Linked DNA regions of Homo sapiens: regions 1 and 2 are each linked to region 3. Evidence: promoter capture Hi-C in human tissues and cell types (Jung and others, 2019). All regions are on one chromosome and are shown on one strand. The core of a region is centred on a gene start or on the middle of the fragment in contact, and the rest is flanking DNA. Distances in the headings are between cores, read along the strand shown.

Region 1 (3,715 bases), core at 221-2,720, 760 kb after region 3:
CCCAAAGTGCTGGAATTACAGGCGTGAGCCACCGTGCCCTGCCTCTCTTCACTTTTTCTATTGATGTCTCATACATCTTTTCGAGACCCTGTTCAACATCATTTCCTCAACTGAAGTCTTCTTTGGCTCTTCAAACACATATTGAGCATGTAATTTACCACTTACTTGGGCCCTTACATGTCATCTTACTTGAATGCAACAATTTCCTGGATAGGCATGGAGGAGACAAGGCCAACCCAGGAAATTGTTGGGTAAGGGAAGGCAGGGATCATATTATACTTTTTGGTATTTCTCAGTACAGCAATGATTCAATTTTGAAAAAGTGAGTAATAATATATCAATAAAATGAAACCTGCTAAAATATAAAATTTGGCCTTTGGTCTGAAAGATGTTGTAGAATAAAGAGGAAGATTAATCACTAGTTTACTAGCTGTTTCGCAGAGAAGGATGTAAACCAGGTAGATTAGATAGGTATAGGTGTAAATGAGAATATTTTACTTGTGGCAAGTCATTATTAAAAGGTTCAGCAGGTTATTATTACACATTTTTCCCAGGTTATCACATTTTCTCTAAGGACATTCAGGTATAATTTTGAATATTACATAGTGGGCTCGGTAGAAAACTGCAATGGTATCCTGTAACATACCAGATTGTAAGGTTACGCATATGCATATGAGTCCAAATGAAAAGGATACCCCAAATCTCTTCCATCCCTAAAATAAAGTATTATTTAAGGTGACAACAGCCTATGGGAGTAGGTCATGTTTTCCACAAGCAAAAGTTCCCTAGGCATATAGGTAAAAGTGGCCCAGCACCCTTTTAAGGATAGTTGTCCCATGGATTGACACGAGATCCTGCTCCAGGACACTTCGCTAACACATTGAATTAATCTGGAGACAAACAATGTGTGCCTTCACAAACTCATATTCTGCTTTAACAAGGCCTTCTATTTAAAATACTAGATCCAACCCAAAAGATTATTTGATGATGTGAAGCACAAACACAATATTAGGCCAATAAAAATAGCTGTTTTGGTACCTGATAGCTTTCTGCACCTTTAAATTACTCCATGAATATTCCTGGTTACTCTAACTACTGAACTGTTTTTATTATTTGTTTATTTTTTAGACGGAGTTTCACTCTTGTTGCCCAGGCTGGAGTGCAATGGTGCGATATCAGCTCACCACAACCTCTGCTTCCCGGATTCAAGCGATTCTCCTTCTGCCTCAGCCTCCCGAGTAGCTGGGATTACAGGCATGCACCACCACACCCAGCTAATTTTGTATTTTTAGTAGAGACGGGGTTTCTCCATGTTGGTCAAGCTGGTCTCGAACTCCTGACCTCACGTTATCCACCTGCCTCGGCCTCCCAAAGTGCTGGGATTATAGGCGTGAGCCACCACGCCCGGCCAGTTTTATTTTTATTTTTGAGTTTCTCTTGCCACAAGGAGAGCTTGAAAATTGCAGTTCAAAGCAAAACGTAAAATGCGTTACAATCTCACTTGCCAGTTCTGTGACTGGGCAGAGTATTTAATTTCTCTTTCAGTTTCTTCATTTATAAAAGGGGGATAGTAATACATATTATGTAGGATTGTTGTGAGAATTATCAACAATGTATGTAAAATAACTAACACAGTGCCTGGCATATAATACATGGTCAGAAAATAGCAACTATTATACTAAATTTAGTTTTTTTTTTTTTTGAGACGTAGTCTCGCTCTGTCGCCCAGGCTGGAGTGCAGTGGCGCGATCTCGGCTCACTGCAAGCTCCGCCTCCCGGGTTCACGCCATTCTCCTGCCTCAGCCTCCCGAGTAGCTGGGACTACAGGCGCCCGCCACCGCGCCCGGCTAATTTTTTGTATTTTTAGTAGAGACGGGGTTTCACCGTGCTAGCCAGGATGGTCTCGATCTCCTGACCTCGTGATCCACCCACCTCGGCCTCCCAAAGTGCTGGGATTACAGGCGTGAGCCACCACGCCCGGCCTATTTATTTTTTTTTATTTTTTATTTTTTGATGTATCATACTGAGTTATGAAAGTCATATTAGATAGAACATTTACTATTCTAGTGCAAACTCCCTAATTATCATACTAACAATTTCTGGTGACCTCTTAAAATAAAAAAACACAATTACTATTGTCATTAATATGATCTTTAATAAACGGAATAACGCACCATTTTACAGCAAGCCTTTTTAAACCTAAAGAACTGCCTTAAAATCTCCTTCTCCAATGTCTCTGTATCAATACAATCTTTTTATTTAGGTTTATATATATCAAAGCATTTACTTACACTTATTCATAGAAAACTCTTTAGTGGCTTAATGTCAGCTTTCATAGTGGCATCCATAGATAATACAAAAGAAAAGTGATTTGCTTTATTTTATACTCACACTGATCCATCAAACACAACTTATACAGCATAGCAAGGCTTCAGACAGCTTATACAAAAGCAAAATAACTGAAATTATTCATAAAGTCATATATGATAGTCTATCTGTAATGTAAGAGCAAAACACACCAACAAAAGATACCCGTTAACAAGAAAGAGGGTTCTGAGGAAGTGCGAGTATTTTCTAGCCTTTCTTTTTCCGGAAAAGCATCCTCAGAAGTGAATACTCCGTAGCTTATGTTTCTCCTGTCCATTCAGAAAAAGCATGACAGCTACGCATCTCCATGTTTCAGCTACTACAACACCCTAAGAGTTAGTGTATTTTACAATTATCCATGTATCTTTATTTGAAAAATTATCAGCAAAAAACTGAGGATGATTCCAGCTTACATAAACACTGATACAATATAATCTCTATGGAAATGAAATAACAAGGCATACAAAAATTGCTTAAATAAATAAATGTGGCCAGAAAAAGAAAAGCCACAGAAGTCAAGCAATTCAGTGTTAAACTGGGACCTATCTTTGAATTGCATCTTTTAGTAATTTTTTCTTACTGTTAAGCTTCTTTAAAAATATGTTTCCTTTACATACTTACGAGGATTGGTAACAAGGTGAAGAGCCTGAGACAAGAGACTGGTTACAGATAACTTCCTAGGATTTTAAGTATATAGCACATCAATTTAGAGCTTGAACTTGTCTGATTCAAAGAAAAATTCTGTTTGACAATGTGATAAATACAGGTTATTTTCTCAAAACCATCCAAGCTATTACTAAAGTTATAAAATATTTAGTTCACTTTTAGAAGGCTTTATAACGTTAAATTGTCTCTTGAGAAAATCCTATCTGACAGGAACTACTTTACCAAGTTCCCTTATTAAAAAACAAACAAAATGAAACAATTTGTCCCATATCATGTATGGTCATTTGACCAAAGAACAGAAATGTAAGTCGTTTTAAGTCAGTGCTTCAACTCTAAAGGCCTAAATTTGTTGCAACATGTAGCCAATTAGTTGAGTCATTCCCTCTGTTCAGTAATTACAGAACTGGGCAACTTTTTATAATTAATGAAATCTGATATTATATCTATGTGAAAAAGTCAAATAAGATGAAACATTAAATGAACTGTGCAACAAACACTTTAAATATTCAACTGGATCTAATTGCTTACTTGCTAACAATTGAACTTTTTCAGTGTACAAAGGGATGAAAGGGGCCCTGAGTTTTTAAGTAACATGATGTCTGTAGAATGCATCTAAAACATGAAGATGTTTCTGAAATCTAAAGGTATAAATAAAATGGATAAAACCCACATGTTGCCTTTT
Region 2 (3,659 bases), core at 583-3,082, 740 kb after region 3:
AAAACAAGTAGTGAGAGATTCTCCAGATGAGAAAGAACCAATGTAAGAAGTCTGACAGTATGAGAAAACAGAGTATTTCAACAACCTAAAAAGATTACATTAGCTCTCCAGCAAAAGATACTAACCAAAATGAAAATTCTGAAATTACAGACAAAGAATTTTCAAAATATATATTGTAAGGAAGTTCAATGAGATCCAAGAAAAGGTGAAAAAAACAACATGAAAAAATTAGAGAAACAATACAGGATATGAATGAAAAATTTACAAAAAAGAAGAAAATTTACTAAAAAGATAGATATTTTAAAAAAACAGAACTTCTGCAAATGAAAAATGTATTATAGGAATTACAAAACACAGTTGAAAGACTTAGAAATAGACTAGACCAAGCAGAAGAAAGAAATTTAGCAGAAGAAGACAGGTCTTTTAATTTAACCCAGTCAGACAAAAATAAAGAAAAAAGAATTTTTAAAAATGAGCAAAGCCTTCAAGAAATATGGGAATATGTAAAGTGGCCAATCCTATAAATCATAGGTATTCCTAAGAGAGAATAAGAAAAAGTAAAAATCTTTTGTTTGTTTTTTTTTTTGAGATGGAGTCTCACTCTGTCACACAGGTTGGAGTGCAATGGCATAATCTCGGCTCACTGCAATCTCCACATCCTGGGTTCAAGCCATTCTCATACCTCAGCCTCCTAAATAGCTGGGATTATAGGCATGCACCACCACACCTGGCTAATTTTTGGATTTTTTTTTTGAGATGGAGTCTCACACTGTCGCCTGGGTTGCAGTGCAGTGGCCCAATCAGGGCTCACTGCAACCTCCACCTCCCAGGTTGAAGTGATTCTCCTGCCTTAGCCTCCCGAGTAGCTGGGACAACAGGCTCCCGCCACCAGCCTGGCTTTTTTTTTTTTTTTTTTTTTTTTTTTGTATTTTTAGTAGAGACGGAGGTTCACTATGTTGGCCAGGCTGGTCTCAAATGCCTGACCTTGTATCCACCTGCCTTGGCCTCCCAAAGTGCTGGGATAACAGCCGTGAGCCACTGCGCCTGGCCAATGTGTGTACACCCACCATCACATTAGAACTAACATCCCGCTAGAATATTACGATTAATATCACAGGGTGTACACACATGGTGTACACTCACTGTGACATTAGAAATAACATCCTCCTAGAATATTACGATTAATATCACAGGGTGTACACACACGGCGTACACCCACTGTGACATTAGGTGTAACATCCCCCTAAAATATTACAAATAATATCACAGGTTGTACACACATCGTGTAACCCACTGTGAAATGAGCAGTAACATTTCCCTAGGATATTACAAATAATATCACTGGTGGTTTACCCACATGGGGTACACCCCCTGTGACATTAGAAGTAACATCACTTTAGGATATTACAAATAATATCATAGGGGGTGTGCACACATGATGGACATACCCTGTGACATTAGGAATAACATCCCCCTGGGAGGCTGAGGCAAGAGAATTACTTGAAACCGGAAGGCAGAGGTTGCAGTGAGCTGAGATCGCGCCACTGCACTCCAGCCTGGGTGGAAGAGCAAAACTCCGTCAAAAAATAAAAAAATAAAAAAAGGAATAACATCCCCCTAGGATGTTATGAATAATATGACAGGGGGTCTCAATCTCCTGACCTTGTGATCCGCCCTCCTTGGCCTCCCAAAGGGGATGTTACTTCTAATGTCACAGGAGTTGTACACCATGTGTGTACACCTTCTGTGATATTCTTTGTAATACCCTAGGGAGATGTTACTTATAAGGTCACAGGGTGTGTACCCCATGTGTGTAAACCGCCAGTGCTATTCGTAATATTCTATGGGGATGTCACTCCTGTGACATTAGAAGTAACATCACTTTAAGATATTACAAATAATATCACAAGGGTGTGCACACACGGTGGACATCCCCTGTGACATTAGAAATAACATTCCCCTAGAATAGTATGCATAATATCACAAGGAGTGTACACATCCCCTGTGACATTAGGGGTAACATCCCTCTAGAATATTACGAATAATATCACAGGGCATGTACCCACATGGTGTACACCTCCTGTGATATTAGGAGTAACATCTCACTAGAATATGACAAATAATATGACAGGTGGTGTACACACACGGTGTACACACCCTGTGACATTAGAAGTAACATCCACCTAGGATATTACAAACAGTATCACAGGGGGTGTACATAGATGGTACCATATGTGTAAACCTCCTGTGACAGTAAGAGAAACATCTTCCTAGCATATTACGAATAATATCACAGGGCATGTACACACATGGTATACAATCCCTGTGACATTAGAAGTAACATCCCCTTTGGGAGGCCAAGGCGGGCGGATCACAAGGTCAGGAGATTGAGACCATCCTGACTAACATGGTGAAACCCTGTCTCTACTAAAAATACAGAAAAAAAATTAGCCAGGCATGGTGGCAGGTGCCTGTAGTCCCAGCTACTTGGGAGGCTGAGGAAGGAGAACGGTGTGAACCAAGGAGGCGGAGCTTGCAGTGAGCCGACATCGTGCCACTGCACTCCAGCCTGGACGACGAAGCGAGACTCCGTCTCAAAAAAAAAAAAAAAAAAAAAAAAAGAAGTAGCGTCCCTTTAAAATGTTAGGAATAATGTCACAGGTGGTGTACGCACATGTTGTACACCTTAAGTTACATTAAGATTAACATCTTCCTAGGATGTTATGAATAATATCACAGGGCTTGTACACACATGGTGTACACGCCCCGTGACATTACGAGTTAACATCCCTGTAGGATATTAGGAATGATATCACCCCCTGTGGTGTACACACATGGTGTACAACCCGTTTCATAGGAGTGACATCCACCAAAATATTAGGGATAATATCCCCTAGCATATTACGAATAATATCACAAGGGTTGTAAACACATTATACAACTCGTGAGACATTAAAGGTAAAATCCCCAGAGGTTTTTATGAATAACATAACACGGAGGTGTACACACATAGTACATATCTTAAGTTACATTAGTAGTAACATCCCCAAGGATGTTATGAATAATATTACAGGGTGTGTACACATATGGTGTACACCTTAAGTTACATTAGGAGTAATATCCCCTTAGGATATTATGAATATTATCATAGGAGGTATACACACATGGTGTACACTCCCTGTAACATTAAAAGTAACATTCCACTAGGATATTACAAATAATATCACAGGGGGTGTACACACATGGAGTATTTCCCCTGTGACATTAAGAGTAACATTCCCCTAGGATATTACAAATAACATCACAGGGTGTGCACCTTCTCTGACATTAGAATTAACAACCCCCTAGGATATTAGGAAGAATATCACAGGGTGTACACCCTCTGTGACATTAGGAGTAACATCCCTCTGTGATATTAGGAGTAATATCACAGGGTGTACACTCCTTGTGATATTAGGAGTAATATCCCCCTATGATATTATGAATAATATCATAAGGTGTGCAGCACCTGTGACATTACGAGTAACATTCCCTTAGGATATTATGAATAATATCACAGTGTGTACACCCCCTGTGAGATGAGGAGTAACATCTTTTTAGGATATTATGAATAATATCACAAGTTGTAAACCCCCTGTGACATTAGGACTAATATCCCC
Region 3 (3,820 bases), core at 899-3,398:
ATAAATTAACTACATGGTATTAATTTCCTCCAAGATCAGCCTCTCCTACTAGGTATGTACCATCCACCCCTCACACAGTTCTAGGCCATAAAAGACTTTCAATTTTAGCGAAAAATTGAGCAAGTGAATCTTTTTTTTTTTTTTTTTTTGATATGTAGTCTCACTCTTATCGCCCAGGCCTGAACCTCTGAATCTTTTCTACCCCACTTGTATCAGCAAAGTACATTACAAGTGGACATTTGTATTTTTTTGTATTAATCTTGCCTACATTCCTTTCCTAGTAGCCATAGTCAACTGCCTCTTTCGAAGGAACAGGTTTATACAGTGGTTCGGGTCATTCTCAAATACAAATGTTGTCTACAAGATAACAGTATGTCTAATCAAACAAAATCTCACTTCCGCGATCAACAATGTGGCCATTACAAAATTTATGAACCTATAAAATTGTAACACCTGTTTTTTAAAATTTACACTAAGACATGAAAATGCTTTCCTATATAGCTAATGTTAAGAAAGGTGCCTCACGCCTATAATCCCAGCACTTTGGGAGGCCGAGGTGGGTGGATGACTTGAAGTCAGGAGTTCGAGACCAGTCTGGTCAACATGGTGAAACCCCATCTTTACTAAAAATACAAAAATTAGCCGGCTGTGGTGGCGGGCGCCTGTAGTCCCAGCTACTCGGGAAGCTGAAGCATGAGAATTGCTCAAACCTAGGAGGCCGAGGTTTCAGTGAGCCGAGATCGCGCCACTGCACTCCAACCTGGACTACAGAACGAGGTTGTGTCTCAAAAAGAAAAGAAAAAAGAAGGATCCCTGGAGAGATGGAGGTGGGAGCAAGAAAAAAGGAAAAAAAAAAAGACTGTGAAGAAACAGTTTAACATATTGCTTCCATTTCCATCTTTATCCCAAGAGAATTTAAACGGGAAAGAAAAAAAATGGAGGCAGAACCCATAATTCAAAATAACCATAAAAAAAAAAGCAAAAGATTTTAGATTTTGCAAACTGTGCCTTTTAACCTGCTATCCTTTCAAGTAATTTTTAAAGAAGGATTTTTTTAATCCACAGAATATTTTGCTTCATCCAGGAGCAGCTGGATCTCATACCATCCGGTATCCCCCGCCTCCATACACACGCCCCTACCACTATCAGCCCTTGAGCCAAACGATCCATCACGGTAAAAAAAAAAAAAAAAAAAAAAAATTAAACCAGGAGGTTCATCTTCCCAATTCTCTCTAAGAAACAGTCATAGTCTGTCCTCCTCCCACCCCCAGGAAAACTGCCTATTCTAACAGAACTAGGAGGGAGGGGGGAATCAGCTCATCATCCTTCTCCATAGGGAAAAAAATGGCATTAACTTCCAACAAGAAACTGCTGCTCTTCTACCGTATCCCCTTTAGAACATAAAATATTAAGAAAGGGTTTCTGAAGCATTCACAGGAACAGAAAACTGAAGCCTGAAGCACTTCACTCTGCAGCAAGATAACCCCTTAAAAATCATCCAGAATTTGGGGGATGGAGGTAACCCGTCAACACCCGCGACACCCCTACCCTAAGGTGGGGAGCAGGATTCCGTCAAACAGAAAATGCCACTCTCCGCCCCCTCCGCCATCCGGAACGCTGACCGGCGCGGAGTGCGGGGGCGGCCGAGGGCGGGAGCGGCGAGGAGGCGGGACGCGACACACGCACCACGCCGAGAACTGCTTCACCGCTTTTTTAAAGGTTTTTAAAATGCAGTTTCTCCAGCCGGAGAATTCCCACCCATTCACCAGCCCCAGCCCTCACCCAGCTCCCCACCCCCATCGGGGGCTCCGCTGGGCCGTGTCCCCGAGGCGGCCTCGGCCCCACGCCCCGAGGCGCGCGGCCCCCGGCGGGGGGGTCCCCGACGCGGCCCAGCTGGGGATGCTTCGCACCTGTATGTAGTTGTTCTCGCAGTAATCGGCCACCCGTTCCAGATTTGTGTAGCTGTCGAAGAGGGCCCGGCGGCCCCCCGGGATTTCCTCTTCCAGCAGCATCTGCAGCTCCGCCATCTTCACATCCTCCTCCTCCTCCTCCTCATACAGGTCGCAGAGGGAGCGGCGGCCGCAGCGCCAAGGAAACCCAGGACCGGGAGAGGAGGAGCGGCGGCGACGGCGGCGGTAACTCGGAAGGAGCGAGAAACAGCCCCAGCGCGCGACAGGGGAGGGGGCGACGGGGGCGGGGCGCGAGCCGACGGACTCCGAGGACGGTCACCGCGGCGACGGCCGGCCGGGCGCGCGCACGCGCGCTCCCTTCCCTCCGCCCCCGGGAGCCCGAAAAAGATTCCCACCCTCGCCCGCGCCGCCGGCCCCTCCCCCACTTCCGGCGTCTCCTAGCGACGGCGGGGGTAGGGGCCGGGATGCGCGCGGGAGTTGGTGGTGCAGTTAACCCTTCCGCCGCCCGCCCGCCGCTGGAGCGGCTGGAGAAGCCCCCACCTCCCGGCGGCCTTTGTTAGCCCGGCGGGAACACACCACCCTGCTCAGCTGGCTTCCTGCCGGCTCCCTCCGGGACTCATCTCGGCTCCGTCCCCATGGAGGTCATCGGCCTAGGGAACTTCTCGAGGCTTTTCTCCCTCTGCTGCTGACGGGAGGCCGAAGGAGGGCACAGCCTCCACTCTTGGGACCCTCCTCTGTGAAAGATCACACCTCAACAGGGCAGGAATAAAACTTCCACGCAGCTTTCAATGCCACCTGACTTCATTTTTCTCAGATTTGACCTCATCCTCTTTGTTGCAGTGAATTGCAGTTTCCTAACCCCAGCTTTCCTGCGCCCCTGCCTCTTTGCACTTCCCCACTAACGCTGTTCTCCCCTGCCAGATTAGCCCCTTTCTCTCCTGGTTTGCGGTGCCGTGGGCCTCAGCTTTTTATGTTTGCCATTTCTATGATTCGCTTCCTCACTCATAACCTTTTCTGTCATTTCTCTAATGCTATCAACTTCGCTGTCCTTTTTCCTATTCATGGATTCAGTATTTAAAATTTTGAAAACGATTTTGCTAGTAGTAATTGCCTTCTTCACAGGGCTGTTACATAGATAAAATCAACGTTTATTGTGAAAATACCTTGAAAAAACATTAAGTGCTACAAAAATTCAAGGCAGATAATTTTCCTCTTGCAGAGTTATAATTCTGTTTTTATTCTCCAGATACTGTGTCTTGTTTTCCTAAATCAGACTACCCCACACAATGTAATCTGGAAAAACTAAAACTCCTGACCATTGCTGAGATATGAAGCCATGACCTTTATTTGTGCTGTGGAAAATCAAAGTTGATTCCAGGCAGTACCATCTTAGACTTGTGTAGTTAGAACAAGATCCATTGTTTCAACACTTTTCTTAATCTGGTGATCTCTTGGCCCTCCTACAGTGAATTTTTTTCATTCAGATGATGAGGAAACTTATACTTTCAAAAAAAAATCACTTTAGGACGGGCGCGGTGGTTCACGCCTGTAATCCCAGCACTTTGGGAGGCCGAGGCGGGCGGATCACGAGGTCAGGAGATCGAGACCATCCTGGCTAACACAGTGAAAACCCGTCTCTACTAAAAATAAAAATAAAAAAATTAGCTGGGCATGGTGGCGGGCGCCTGTAGTCCCAGCTACTCGGGAAGCTGAGGCAGAAGAATGGCGTCATCCTGGGAGAAGAGCTTGCAGTGAGCGGAGATCGTGCCACTGCACTCCAGCCTGGGCGACAGAGCGAGACTCCGTCTCAAAAAAAAAAAAAATCACTTTAATACCATATCATTACAAATATCTGGAGCAAACCCTAATGTTATATTGGCTTCATGATACATACATTAGCAGAATGTATG

Evidence for each region. The method cuts DNA at HindIII sites, captures the fragments that hold promoters and counts their contacts. A contact is called where the count stands out against the background at its distance.
Region 1: a fragment that was not itself captured here is called in contact with the fragment with the promoter of ABI2 in region 3 in 1 of the 25 tissues and cell types used here (spleen).
Region 2: a fragment that was not itself captured here is called in contact with the fragment with the promoter of ABI2 in region 3 in 1 of the 25 tissues and cell types used here (neural progenitor cells).

The regions. Positions count from the first base shown.
Region 1 is chr2:202,566,170-202,569,884 of GRCh38, reverse strand. BMPR2 (bone morphogenetic protein receptor type 2) reads right to left here. Exons shown (of 13, transcript NM_001204.7): 13 at 2,136-3,715. Among named protein-coding and RNA genes, the nearest start is that of FAM117B, 67 kb to the left of the region's middle. The HindIII fragment of the contact is 4,279 bases long and covers 1-3,609 here.
Region 2 is chr2:202,584,826-202,588,484 of GRCh38, reverse strand. No RefSeq gene overlaps it. Among named protein-coding and RNA genes, the nearest start is that of FAM117B, 48 kb to the left of the region's middle. The HindIII fragment of the contact is 6,678 bases long and covers 1-3,659 here.
Region 3 is chr2:203,326,722-203,330,541 of GRCh38, reverse strand. It overlaps ABI2 (abl interactor 2), which reads right to left and starts at 2,148. Exons shown (of 12, transcript NM_001375670.1): 1 at 1,911-2,148. The coding sequence starts at 2,027. RefSeq lists silencers at 1,580-1,929, 2,206-2,393, 2,150-2,489 and an enhancer at 2,291-3,261. The HindIII fragment of the contact is 25,150 bases long and covers 1-3,820 here.